Linked DNA regions of Homo sapiens: all the other regions are linked to region 1. Evidence: promoter capture Hi-C in 16 types of primary human blood cells and fetal thymus (Javierre and others, 2016). All regions are on one chromosome and are shown on one strand. The core of a region is centred on a gene start or on the middle of the fragment in contact, and the rest is flanking DNA. Distances in the headings are between cores, read along the strand shown.

What was found. Contacts are between HindIII fragments. The CHiCAGO score rates a contact against its expected background, and 5 or more counts as called.
Region 2: a fragment that was not itself captured here is called in contact with the fragment with the promoter of AMACR in region 1 in 1 of 17 cell types (activated CD4 T cells); the score reaches 6.1 in activated CD4 T cells.
Region 3: a fragment that was not itself captured here is called in contact with the fragment with the promoter of AMACR in region 1 in 1 of 17 cell types (non-activated CD4 T cells); the score reaches 5.0 in non-activated CD4 T cells.

What each region holds. Positions count from the first base shown.
Region 1 is chr5:34,006,607-34,009,306 of GRCh38, forward strand. It overlaps AMACR (alpha-methylacyl-CoA racemase), which reads right to left and starts at 1,444. Exons shown (of 5, transcript NM_014324.6): 1 at 1,167-1,444. The coding sequence starts at 1,413. All of the region lies in intron 6 of C1QTNF3-AMACR (C1QTNF3-AMACR readthrough (NMD candidate)), which reads right to left. RefSeq lists a silencer at 1,581-1,660. The HindIII fragment of the contact is 12,530 bases long and covers 1-2,700 here.
Region 2 is chr5:36,249,011-36,251,812 of GRCh38, forward strand. It overlaps RANBP3L (RAN binding protein 3 like), which reads right to left. Exons shown (of 14, transcript NM_145000.5): 13 at 2,303-2,489; 14 at 1-687. The coding sequence ends at 644. The region is part of intron 1 of LOC124900962 (a long non-coding RNA gene); the gene reads left to right. Among named protein-coding and RNA genes, the nearest start is that of NADK2, 8.5 kb to the left of the region's middle. The HindIII fragment of the contact is 2,298 bases long and covers 125-2,422 here.
Region 3 is chr5:36,868,383-36,871,294 of GRCh38, forward strand. No RefSeq gene overlaps it. Among named protein-coding and RNA genes, the nearest start is that of NIPBL-DT, 6.9 kb to the right of the region's middle. The HindIII fragment of the contact is 1,941 bases long and covers 393-2,333 here.

The sequences.
Region 1 (2,700 bases), core at 194-2,693:
TATATCCGTATTCCCAGCCGACCTTCCTCCTAATTACAAGACCTTGGACAAGCCTCCCTCATCTTAAATGGAGCATTCTTAAATTATTACATAATCTTAATTATTAAATCATTATTGTTACAAGCCTCAAATACAGCTGTGAGGGTTAAATGAGTTAACGCATTTAAATAAGCCGGCTGTGCCGTAGGCATTCATTCATTCACCATTTACCGATTTCCCACTATAGACCAGGCAATGCTTTGGATTTCTACTTGAACAAAGTTATTCTGGCAGCTGTCTGAGAATCCACTGGAGTGATACCAGCCCCAAACACCAGTTTTTAAAAGGCTGTCACACCAGTGTCAAGGCAGTTGCAGCAGGTATGGAGAGAAATAGTCCGAGTGGGCTAAGGAGCAAAATGACTGTATTGATGATCATTGAAATTGGATGTGAAAGGAAGACTGGAGTCCATGATGAAGTACAAGTTTGAGATTCAGGCATTCACTGAAATAAATAATACAGAAGGTGGAGATGCTGTTTTAGAAGGAAGAAGGAAAGGCTCATTTTGGGATTTGTGGAAGCTGCCTGGCGGGCAGCCTTGACGGCGATGCCCAGGACCTGTGTATGCCAGCGTCTGCCGCTCTGAAAGGGGGAAGTCTACAAAAAGGTGAAAATGATGGGAATGGGTAACTGGGCTTCAGGGAGCAGATGCTGAGACTTAGAACGCCAGCATTTCAGGCAGGGAGGAGCGTTAGCCTGGGCCCGTGGATGGCTTGAGGGTACAGCACTCCAAAACGGTAGCCGAATGACCGCCTATATGCAGTTTTCCAGGAAGGGAATCCTATGGCTTTCATTAGATTCTCACAGGGTTCAAGACCCTCAATTAATTAAGAAAGGCAAATACGGAACGTTTCTTAGAAAAAAAAGGAGGAATTTGGGAAGGAGTCAGAGAGGCAAAAGGAGAAACCGGGCAACAGCAGTATCTCAGAACCCAAGTTTTGGACAATCCAGTTTGGGAAGAATGATCACTAACAATACCCTAGGAGGCAAAAATCTGGAAGGCTGGGGCCGACAAGGGTTCTTGCGGCAACAGGGCAAAGGTGTGGCGGGTGCAGCCTCGATCGAACGGCCAGGCCCCTCCCCTCCGCGGGAACTTCCCGAGAGCAGCCCGCGGGGCCCGGGCTCACCGCGGCGGAAGGGCTCCAGCAGCACATCCGACCGCTTGCACAGACGCCGCAGCACGGCGGCTCCCCGCGGCTGCTTCAGGTCCAGCACTAGCGAGCGCTTGCCCCGGCCCAAGCGGCTCACGTCGTAGCGGGAGCCGGGCCGGTCCACGCGTACCACACGCGCCCCGAAGTCAGCCAGGACCATAGCACAGAACGGGCCCGGGGCCAGGCCGGACAGCTCCACGACCGAGATGCCCTGCAGTGCCATGGCGCTTCCCAGTGCCCCGCTGAAGGAAACTGAGCAGCCCTTAGCCCCAGCCCAGCAGCCTGCAAGAAGCCCTCCCAATCCCCGGCGCCACGCCCCCAGCCGCGGCGCCGCGCCCCAAAGGCACCACCCCCGTCCCTCTTTTGCGGGCCTGCGCAAGCCCGCGGAGTCTGCGCACTGGGCGCTTCCCCACCCCCGGCCTCCCGGGACCGCCAGTGCCAAATGCAGTAGGTTGCTTTCCTTTTTGTGCAACCTAAATTCCTGAGTCTTAAATTGCAGGGACTGACCTTTGGAGCTCCTGCCTGTTACCGTCCTCTCTGGACGCTTTTATTGTACCAGGGCGATCCCCAGCCCAACTGTACCATTCGAGTCCCTACTCCTGCCTTGCTCTAGGGAAATAAAATAACGTAAACACGTAAGAACAATGCGAAAGCGTTTTCTTCCCTAGGCTGCAGATTGTCTTCTTCACCGCCCCTGCTTAGCTAGCTAGCTAGCTGGGAATTTAATCCAGAAACGGCTTGCGATACCTCCTAGATGCACTCGTTTTGAGTTACAAACTCCGCGGATTACATGTCTTTTTAAAAAAGTTTAGACTACACTAGGAAAATTATTTTAGTATCAGAAGAATATCAGGGGTGTAGTACTCATCAGAGCTAAATGAGAGCGCTTTAAAAATGTTAGTTTGTCTTCCGCCATTTCTACAGAAAGCTGCAATTTCAGGTTTTCAACCTAATAGGTGATATTTAAGAAAAAAAAAAAGCAATCGCAAATAGCCCCACTGCTTTTACAAATCATTTTTTCTCTTCTAGGTATAGCCTGTCAGGTGGCCTAATGTAATTTTTGACATCTCTAGGAATTTTAATAGAACCAGAAATGGGTGCCAGAGATATGCCTGCACTAATCTTAAGTGGGGATTTATGTATTTCTCAAGCAAGTGATTAAAGCAAAACTAGGCACGATTGAAATCAAGATCTTTTAGGCAAGAAAGTCATGATGAGTTTTAGAATTATTTTAGGACTCTGTGGCTTTCTCTTCATAGAAATAGAAAAAAAAATTGTATAAAACCACAAAAGGTCCTGAATAGCCAAAGCAACACTGAACAAAAAGAACAAAGCAGGAAGCAACACACTACCAGAATTCAAATTATACTACCAAGGTGTAGTAACCAAAACAGCATTCTATTGGCATAAAATAGACACAAAGACCAATGGAACAGAATAAAGAACCCCAAAATAAATCCATATATTTACAGCCAGCTGATTATCAATAAAAACACCAAGAACATATATT
Region 2 (2,802 bases), core at 24-2,523, 2.2 Mb after region 1:
ATATTTTATTTATTCATTTAACAACTATTGGATGCTGACCATGAGTCAAACATTGACAAGATGCAACAGATACAAGTCCAAGAGCAGATGCTCTTTTTAAAGGAATTCATACCATGAATATATAAGCTTATCATATTAGGAAATCCAAAAGCTAAATTAAAATATTTCCCAGAAGATAAATAGGATTTAGTGAAATGTTATCATGCCATTATACTATTTTTCAGAGAAATGACTCTGGAAATTTAGTAAAATATTTGTTTTGTGGTCAAGTATGACTGAAAAAAATAAACATTTTGTTAGGTATTTATCAAATCTAGCAATTTATAATTCTAAGTATTATATCCATCAATGTGATGAAGAGTCCAAATTAGTTATAAAATCCTATTCTAAATAAACTTCTTCAAAAATGATAAATTTTGAACTTCTGAAGTCCATTTTTTTAAATTCTGTCAGTTTCTGCACAATAATCAAAATGTAAAATGTAAAACATAAAAATGTTAATTGCAACAAATTACATTTCTTAAACTTTTCTATAAAAACTCTTCAAGGAATGAATAGAATCTTCTCATTAGTTAGGGTGGTTTAGTATTTTCAGTAGGGTGACCCCTCTTTTTGTAGATGTCATGTTTATAGTAGGTAGTATTCATGAACAGGCAACCGACTGTCTGTGAGTCCAACTAGAAGGATCTGTGATATAAATTTAAAATGTTTTATTATACAATATTATATTTAGGGTAGATTTTTAATATTGAATGCAACTAAACATGAATATTAATGAATATACTCATTGGTGATGAAATAAAAGCTACAGAATATACATTTTTACAAGCAACATTTAGAGATGTTGCTAAAATTTTAATCATGCCTCTTTTAGATAATTTATAAGCAACAAAGTGCAAAAAATTAGACCTTTTATTGCTTCCATAACATTTTAGCATTTGTTTTTACTGCCTCCTGGAGAAGATACTAAGTGAAAATGGGAAAAAATGGCAGGGGAAAGGGGGTTCATATGATTGACATTTGCTTTGCCTTATTTTCATTGTTTTTTATTAAGATAGTTACATAGCACCCCTTTCCTAAAATGGAATATAACAGAATATAGATATCATAAACATGTGTCATTAGTTAGTGAGAGAATTTGCTATTTAATCCTTATTTCAAATTGACATTGTTAATGTGTACCAACTAGTTCTCTGATAGACCCCATTTTATTGTTGGCAGTGTAAACATTATTATAAAATAAAAGATTTTTTTATTTTATATGTTTTAAAGACTAATAAACCATTTGTTTAATAGATTTGCTTAAAGTAGCAAAAAAAATCATATTCACTTAGTTTTCTGAATCACTGGGTCAAGCAGGTTATAATACTGATCTGCATGTTTTGTGTATTTTTCCTTTTGATTATAGCTTTAATATTAAGCAAAGGAAGATATTTCATCCAGTTATGTACGTTCTTTGATAGATTCTTAAATTACATATGATTAAAGCAGCTTTAATATTTCAAAATGATTAAGAGTTGAAAAAAATGCTTGTTACCACACTATCGTTGTAATTGTATTACTCAGTCCTCTGTAAAACAGAATTCAGGACTAAGTGAAACTGTTAGTGAAAACGCTTGGATGACTTTTATTGGAATAATTACATCTGTATAACAAAGTTGAGCTTACTATGTTTGACATTGTTTTTCTCCAAAGAGAAGTACGAATATTAGTTTTAAATCCACATATCAAGATAAGCACTAAAACCTAACAGTCTGTTTATCACTGATTCCACTTCAACCTTACTTTATTTGTGAATCCTGATACAATAAAAGAAATAGTACTTTTTCCCCTAGATAAAATAGGTCCTTGAAAATAGTATTTGTACAATCTAGTTATTCTTACAAGCAGTCAAATTCTAAAAAGGGAATAAACGAATTTTCAGGGTATCAAGCCAAGTTTACCAAGTGGGCTTATTATATGTATTTATAATTCTTCCTAGTATAGCCAATAATAAAATGAAAATAAGTGAAGAGAAATAAAAATGAAGGGTTAATTTCAGGGTAGCAATGTAATAGTTTTTTATGCAGTTTATAAGCAAATGACATAGGCATCACCATGAAGCTGACTTGATAAAATGAAGACCACTTATAGAAGACAGTGATTTTCAAACCCACTCCTCAGATCCAAACAACTAAGGCTCTAGCCACCACTAACTTTAAACAGAGCAGTTCCACTTGTTAAAAAATCTACCTAATATATTAGGATCGTGCTTAAGAATTCTTTTTTAAACCTCTGAACTAACAAAACAAAAGCTATTTACCTGATCCATTTTTAGTGACTTGGATGAAATCATCCTCATTCTCATCACAGCTTTCGCAGTTCAATTGTTGGGCTGTTTCTGACAGGCTTTCAGCTTGATTGACATCTCTCTGCTTATTGAAGCTTTGAAGTGCAACAAGACGATGATGTATTGCTGCATACAAATATGCTGTATCTTGGGCACTGGCCTGCATGAGGAACATTAAATTGTTAAGAAAATCATTAATATGTTAGCTACATTTTACAGATTTTTAATCTTTCACTACTAATAAGGAAGGAATTACATGGCATAAATCTACAGTGTACATAGGTGCTAACAACCCTAAAAATTAAGCAGTAAAAAGACAATCTTGAACCAAATTGAATCCTAAAATGTATACTTTTATAAGCAATCCCAATGTACACATTTTAAATTTAGAAAGTGAAATTTTGTTATATAAAATTTCTATTTGAATTTTTGAATTTAAATTAGTTAAGACCATCCCTCTTTCACTATTTTAC
Region 3 (2,912 bases), core at 113-2,612, 2.9 Mb after region 1:
CCCACCACCACGCCCGGCTAATTTTTTGTATTTTTAGTAGAGACGGGGTTTCACCATGTTAGCCAGGATGGTCTCTATCTCCTGACTTCGTGATCTGCCTCCCTCGGCCTCTCAAAGTGCTGGGATTACAGGCGTGAGCTACCGTGCCCGGCCAGAATCTTTTAGATTATTAAATGAAAACTAGATAAAACAGAAATACCTATACTACATATCATAGATGCTGAAATGTTGACTTTGGTGACAAAGTTACTAGTTTTTATTGGACTTTGACATGAGTTAACCCATTACTATGTTTATCAATAAGGAATAGTTCATGGTAAAGCTATTGCACTTTATTAATTTAATGTTTAAAAGTTCATAATAGCTATTTTTCATGAGTGGAAACATTTAAAAGCTTAGGCTGTTTATGCAATTCTAATAGCCCATATTCATCACAACTCGTGTGTAAAGGAAACAAATAATTAGAAGTAGTAATACTGGTGGCATTGAGGGTTTTTTGGCATTAAAATGTCTCTAGGCTGGGCGCAGTGGCTCACGCCTGTAATCTCAGCACTTTGGGAGGCCGAGGCAGGCGAGATCGCACCACTGCAGCACTCCAGCCTGGGTGACAGAGACTCTGTCTTAAACAAACAAAAAAAAATGTCTCTAGGACTGATGAGCTGTACATCTTGGATATTATCGCTGTGATTAACTGACTTGACACCAAATGCCAATTTATAAAATAATGCCAGTATAATATAGCATTATAAAAGAATATACCCTTCAAAAAGTTTAAAGTCTACTTTCTAGTACTCAAAATCAAATAATTTGCTTTTTATTTTTTATTTTTTGGCTGGAGATCGGAGTTTTATTATAACTCAAATCAGTCTCCTGGAGCATTTGGGGATCAGTTTTTAAGGATAATTTGGTGGGTGGGGGAAGGCAAGTGAATAGAGTGTGCTGATTGGTTGGGTTGGAGATGAAATCATAGGGAATTGAAGCAGTCCTCTTGCTCTGAATCAGTTCCTGGGTGGTGGCCACAAGATCAGATGAGCCAGTTTATTGATCTGGGTGGTGCCAGCTGATCCATCAAGTGCAGGGTCTGCAGAATATCTCAAGCACTGATCTTAGGAGCAGGTTAGGGAGGGTCAGAATCGTGTAGCCTCCAGCTGCATGACTATTAAACTATAATTTCTAATCTTGTGCCTAATTTGTTAGTCCTACAAAGGCAGTCTAGTCCCATAAATGATTTGCTTCTAAGTATCACTTTCTTGAAATCACTGGTGGCATACTGAATTTGTATGATTGTTCATATATCAATGAAATTAAATCTTTCAATAAAATTTAAGAAGTTTGTCTACTTCATAATGAAGATATGCTCCACGTCCTATGGAGATAGTGCTTAAGAAGTATATTTTTGAAAGGAATAAACACATGAGTAAAAGTATATATGGTATGTTTCCACAAACCTTGAAACGAGTAAGGGGCTAGACTAGCTAATTCATTTGGTTATTCAACTAAAAATGTTTGGGTCTTTACATTTATTTTGATGCAGTTAGCTAACGCTCAGCTCTTATACTTTTACTTCAAATAATATATAGATCACATCTATTCATTCAATATGCACCCATTCTATCAGGCATTTTGAAGTTCTTAGACAAAATTAAATAAACTGACATAATCACTTAGCTACTAGATTCCTCCAAACATCTCTCACAAAACAGATATTACTTTATTTGTTGTGTTTATAAACAGTAGTGGAAACAATTCTGTTCTCTAATTTTAAGCTGAAAAATCATGTCCTTATTAATTCACTGTAATAATTTTTTATTAAATTTTATCCCTTATTTCTTAGATTAAATGCACATAAATTTGATGTACAACTTTATAGTTTTAAAATGTGTCTATTTATGGCCTAATTTCAACTTTAAGTGAAAATGGAATTATTAAGAAATATTCACTGTTACATTTGGCTAGCAATTCATCATGGCATTAAGGTACTGTTTTCCATGGTTTTTCCATCTTGGGTTATAATACTGAGACATTTCACTTGTATAGTTCTGCATTCAATTTTTCTTCCAATTTATTTCCTGCAAGGTAATTCTAAGTTATAATTGTCACTGTATCCTTATTTGATACATTGGTCGCCTTTCTCTCCTTATGACTGTCTTTTTGGTAAACTCAAAAAGTGAGCAGGGGCCATACAGTTAAATTCAAAACAGGAAGTCATATGATGTTCCTTTATACTCCTACCTTTCATGATTGACTTGGCTCCCTCTGCTGGTTAGTAATATAATTCCTTTCTTAGTTCAATAGGGTATGTGTTAACATTGGTGAAATATCTGGGGTGAATAAGCTTGGAGTTAGAGCTTCTTATATGTTGATTCTCTAGCAAATTTTGTGTTTAGCTAAGGTTTTAACCAACCTAGGCCTTACTTATCTATAATGGAAAGGGACTTGGTATCACATGCCTGAAAAACAAAATTTTTATTAATGCCGTCTTAAATAGACTTGCCAACATTACAATACTGAAATCTACAAATAGCAAATAAAGTGAAAGAGTAATGAAATATTTAAATTGTATTAAAATATTTCAGTATAATATAATCCTTAACTTATTTGCTTTCTGGTTAGATACTTTTCATTCTACTCATGCAATATAATGCCTCCTTTTTAAATTCTATACACAATTTCTTCCTTCTTAAGTTTCCCCCTTTTAAATCCTATACACAAGTGTAAGTACATTTATTTAAATATATAGAATGAGTTGGATGGCAAATGAGAGTTACCTATTTAAGAACTTATTTACTTTGGCTAGAGAGAAAACACTTATTGAAAGTTTATTTTTCGGAGGGAGAAAGAAGTTTCCACCATTTTCAGGGAGTAATTTGTTCCTATGATAATTACTCTGTGAAAGATAGAAATTTGCTTTG